2 separate regions of the Homo sapiens genome follow, and region 1 is linked to region 2. Evidence: promoter capture Hi-C in human tissues and cell types (Jung and others, 2019). All regions are on one chromosome and are shown on one strand. Each heading gives the region's core, a stretch centred on a gene start or on the middle of the fragment in contact. The rest is flanking DNA. Distances are from core to core; before and after follow the strand shown. Region 1 overlaps NRG3 (neuregulin 3). Region 2 holds the start of LRIT2 (leucine rich repeat, Ig-like and transmembrane domains 2).

The links. The method cuts DNA at HindIII sites, captures the fragments that hold promoters and counts their contacts. A contact is called where the count stands out against the background at its distance.
Region 1: a fragment that was not itself captured here is called in contact with the fragment with the promoter of LRIT2 in region 2 in 1 of the 25 tissues and cell types used here (dorsolateral prefrontal cortex).

Annotation. Positions count from the first base shown.
Region 1 is chr10:82,806,091-82,808,790 of GRCh38, reverse strand. The region is part of intron 3 of NRG3 (neuregulin 3); the gene reads right to left. Among named protein-coding and RNA genes, the nearest start is that of NRG3-AS1, 570 kb to the right of the region's middle. The HindIII fragment of the contact is 4,270 bases long and covers 1-2,700 here.
Region 2 is chr10:84,224,236-84,226,935 of GRCh38, reverse strand. LRIT2 (leucine rich repeat, Ig-like and transmembrane domains 2) reads left to right here and starts at 1,392. Exons shown (of 3, transcript NM_001017924.5): 1 at 1,392-1,525; 2 at 1,822-2,603. The coding sequence starts at 1,416. The HindIII fragment of the contact is 11,140 bases long and covers 1-2,700 here.

The sequences.
Region 1 (2,700 bases), core at 159-2,658, 1.4 Mb after region 2:
CCAGGACAGGTGAAAAAACAATAAATAAGTAGCTGTATAAGGAATAAATTCATAATTTTGAGATTACTTTAGTTGTCTAAATTCCGGGTTTGATTTAAAACATGAAGCATGGGTAATTCTATTAATCATAAATAGGTAAAAGTTTTGTCATTGCAGAAAAAGCTAATGAAGTATTTCTAAAAAATAACAGTTTAATTGGAGAGATTTTTTTCATTCTAAGGCTATCTAAAAAAGTTAATCACATATATAATCATCTATGAAAGATCTCACACATTTATATTATCATAAAAATATCTCAAAATTAAAAGAAAAATGTGTGTGTTTAATTACATAATGTCACTGATCACCAAAAATTATAAGTAATTTGTAATAGTAAAATGAAATGAGTCGACTCCTTTATTGAATTTAAATGAATTTGAATATTTATTTTCTGGAACATTTAGTAAAATGATCTCAATGTATCATTCAGATTTAACTGTGTGATACACAGTGTAAGTAGAAACTGTATTTATAAGCTATAAACAAAATGAAAGGAGAAACTCTAAGGTGCTTATTCAAAATAGCGACTTGACTACTGTGCTTTTTTTTTTTTACTACGTGTGTAGAAATTATGTTTGAGGGGCATTTATGAGAGCAATTATTCAAGATACATGAAAAATGAGATGAAAATAAGTGAAGAACCTACGAATTAACCATAAATGTTCCTCATTCACAACACAGAAAGGGTAACACCAGATACATCTACCCCCTTACGATAATGGGAGTCAATTTATTGGAGAAAATTTTTGCAGTTATTGAGAAAGATGAAGAAGGAAAGAAATTGTCTGTGAGAGGAGACTATTTAGGTAAAGAAAGAAAAAGGATTTGTAAACAAGGAATAGTACTGTGAGTCCCTGGACTGTTTCAAAGAAAATTAGATGTGTTTTGTGAAAAAATAAATGAAATAAATTTATTTAAAAAGTATGCCATATGACTGTCTTTGCAGCCATATAAGAGAAGACAGGAAACAGGGAAAAAGGGAAAAAGAAGCTTGCTTTGGAGGCATGATGTATAAATCAGTATTTCTCACTCTTGAATGTGCATAGGATTCATCAAGGGAGCTTATTATTAATAAAACAAAGATTCTGAAGCAGTTTGCTTTGGGGTGGCACTTGAGATTCTGTGTATCTAACAAGCTCCCAGATGATGCTGATGTTGCTGGCCTTGGATCACACTTTAAATTCCAACAAGAAAGGAAATTACATTGTAGTCCTATGGATGTGTGTTCACATCCTAACTCTGATTCATGTAATTATGTATTCTGGACTCATGGAGGCCTCTGAACTTTACATAGGTGGACATGAGTAGCAACACTCCACACACCCCGTTGCAAGGTAATGAAATAATGTTAGCAAATCCCCAGACACAAAGTAGGTATTCATGACTGTCAGTTCCCCTTATTGAGTCCTTGCAAGTTTACTTGCTCAAATTGATGTTATTGAACATGCAGTAATTATTATATTTCAAGTGTAATGAAAACATGTAAGTCAAGATGCCCCCTAAATAAGTCAAAAATTAGATATCATTTCACTTTTATAACATTTGTCTTTTTATGTACTTTGACAGATGTCTCATTTAGAAGCAGAACATGATTAGAGGGAAAGAAATTGTTGGAAAGATATTGCAAACATTTGGAAAAGCAAGAGGCTAAAACTCATGTTGGGATGGTGACTTTCTCCCAGGACATTTATGTCCAATAACCAATTAGGGTCTTGGCAGCAAACAATGTGTGGAAAGCTGTAATTCCATCACATGAAAGCAGGAAACAGTTGAAATAAAATATAGTGTGAGTCTTTAAAGTCTATGTAGACAATGAGTAGATGTGCTTCAAAAATAAAATGATTTGCAGGTAGGACAAATAGAAATAGGAAGGGTTACATGCAGATGGTGCCTATCTGATGTCTACAACAGGCTCTATCAGACAACCTTATGATCCAAACTGCAGAGGAACACATGAGACTTACCTAAGTACTATGCACTAATTCCAGTACCCCCATCAGACTGTCATCTACATCATCTTCTCTACGTATCTGGTTGTCACTCCTAAATTATTCTCTTTTTCCCTCCTGATTAGCCACTCCGGATTTATATACTAATGGTACATGACAACTCCTAGATGCATCTCAGAAATGTGAAACAACATCCTCAAATCAATGCCTTTTCTAGAGAGAAATACTTGAAAAGTCTCAACTAATCATCAGGTTGGGTCTTTAGCTTCACTTCTCACATTAATTGTAGGTCCGTGAGTAGAAGCCTAGCTCATTACCCAATACCTCATACATGCTCTACTAATACGTGATGTGTGAATGAGGTCAGGATTTTTGTCTTTAGTATATATTTTTATAAAAACAGCAAAAACTAAGTAGAAAGGCAATCACAGAACTTGATCACAAATAAAATATATAGAAAATAATGCCGTCTTATCTAAGTATTCAGACAATCGGGCATAATTTCAGGCCTCAATTGTCATTGTCATTGTTGAAAAGACCTATAAGTCATATTTATAACAGGAAGTGTCAATAAGGCACATGAGGAACTCAAACCTTGTTGACACTCACATCTGCTTAAAGCCATAGCTGATGTTTCCCTGAGGTGTCACTTGCTTTCTGATATGAAAGGACCCAGTCTCTCTATAAACAAATGCTTCTCTAGCAGTAGATT
Region 2 (2,700 bases), core at 143-2,642:
GGTCCCCCCAGGTTTTAGAGTTAGACTGTTTGGAAACTCCTGCAAATATTTCTGGCTTGGATGGAAAGCCTGGAGTGTAATCAGCTTAGCTGGTGACCCATTTCCCCCCTCACTGGTTAGCTAAGCGGATTTTCTTTCCTGAGGCCTTTTGTAGGGTACAATGTATATCATGAGTCTTAAAGGAACTCATGGAATTTCAATATTCAACTGGAAGTGCCCTAGTTAATAGAGATGTAGACTTTTCGGATCTTAAAGAGTTTGTCAGTGGGAGGAGGATTAATGGGCACCAACTGTGTGCTAGGTGTTGTATTTAACATAATCTCAAACTTTTCTAAAAATATGGCTGGATGCAATGGCTTGCACCTGTAATCCCAGTTACTTGGGAGGCTGAGAAGTTTGAGACCAGCCTGGGCAACAGAGTGAGACCCTGTCTCTGAAAAAATACAAAAATTAAAAAATAATGAGAAATAAATTCCTGGAAACACTATGAGGTATTTGTTAATATTCTCATGATACAGAAAAGACTCACAGAGATTAAATTACATTCCAAAGATCTCAAGATTCAGAAGCACAAACAAGAGAGAAGACTCCTTGGGACAGGGTCTATAATAGGTTTGCCCTTGACCCTGTTCCTTTCATTGGGCAAGAGTATAGCTTAAAGCAAATGACCAGTAAATATTTGTGGAATAAATGAAGAGTGAAAGAGCAAGCATATAAAATTGTATACATCTCTTTTTAAAATGTAGGTTGCCCATTTTGATGAAGTGAAATGCACAGTATTAAGGAAAGGTTGTGAAGTCCAAGAAAACAATCTTTTGGTTTAATCAGAAAATACCATCTTGTATTTGAAACTGGTGACCCAAGCTGCAGAAGCAGCTGTCTTGATGCAGTAGGAGCATGACTACACCACCCGTGGTGTTGGGAAGAGAACAAATGATAGGAATGAACACAGAATTACTTTGTTACTCATCACCTATTTTCACTTTGAGAAAATGATTGGAAATTCTAGGTTTCAGGAATCAACTGCAAATGATGAAGCATTAGATGGATTCTGGCCACATCCCCTGAACAGTGGTGCTCAGAATAGCACTGCCTGCTTGTTTCTCAGACTTCTGTTTAAGACTCTAAGAAATGTAGAATCTGTATGGAATTGGACATCTGACTTGGAGTTTGCTTTTCAGACTCAAGAATTACACAAATGTTGAATTTCCTGACCCTAGTTAAGAGACATTGATCCCCCTTCGTGTGTTCTGACTGAACTTGTGGTCTGGGCTGTAACAGACCTCAGAGCTCCCATGGGCTTTCCTGCTGCTGTGTGACTTACATCATCATGGATTACCAATAATAGGATTTGCCACTCGGAAGCTGGGGCGATACTTATTCAAAACTCACAACGTATTTTCTTACAGAGAAATATGGCTTCAGTTTTTCATTACTTCCTGTTAGTTCTGGTCTTTCTGGATACACACGCAGCTCAGCCTTTCTGTCTGCCAGGATGCACTTGCTCAGAGGAGAGTTTTGGCAGGTGCGCTCTGCTGGCCAGATGTTAGAGGGTTATGGGGAATGGGTTTTCTTTGGGGATGATGTGGAGTGGAAGCAGGCTTAGAATTGGCAGGAAATCAGCAAAACTCTATGAGACTCATTCTAGTTGGGACTGAACTTTGCTGAACTGTGCATTTTTACCAAAATGAGTCTAACTCTTTTATTTCAATGAATAATAATATTTTTATTCTGATTCACATGTCTAATGCCAGGATCAGCCTGACCCCACTTTTCAGTCCCCTGTTGTTTATCTTAAAGCTGTTCTGGTTTCTTGTACAGGACTCTGCAGTGCACATCTGTCTCCTTGGGAAAGATCCCTGGGAACCTTTCTGAAGAGTTCAAGCAAGTGAGAATTGAAAATTCACCCTTATTTGAGATGCCCCAAGGGTCTTTCATCAACATGAGCACCTTGGAATACCTCTGGCTCAATTTTAACAATATCAGTGTGATCCACCTAGGAGCCCTGGAACACCTGCCAGAACTGAGGGAGCTGAGACTGGAGGGGAACAAGCTCTGCTCAGTACCATGGACAGCGTTCCGTGCCACCCCTCTCCTGAGGGTCTTGGATCTCAAACGCAACAAGATTGATGCACTCCCTGAGCTGGCTCTTCAATTCTTGGTCAGCCTGACCTACCTTGACCTATCCTCCAATAGGCTTACAGTTGTATCCAAGAGTGTCTTCCTGAACTGGCCAGCCTACCAGAAATGCCGGCAGCCTGACTGTGGGGCTGAGATTCTCTCCAGCCTGGTGGTGGCCCTGCATGACAACCCCTGGGTATGTGACTGTCGCCTAAGGGGGCTTGTCCAGTTTGTCAAGTCCATTACCCTCCCAGTCATCCTGGTGAATTCCTACCTGATATGTCAGGGCCCTCTGTCCAAGGCAGGGCAGCTTTTTCATGAAACTGAGCTTAGTGCTTGCATGAAGCCACAGATCTCAACCCCCAGTGCCAATATCACCATCCGGGCAGGACAGAATGTGACCCTGCGATGCTTGGCACAGGCCAGCCCCTCACCATCCATTGCATGGACTTATCCCCTGAGTATGTGGAGAGAATTTGATGGTAAGCCACATGCACCCTCTCAGTGTATCTGGAGGGAATGGAGAGGTCTGTAGCAAACCCATCCTCATTAGAGAGATTCAAAGCTGGGTCAGTCACG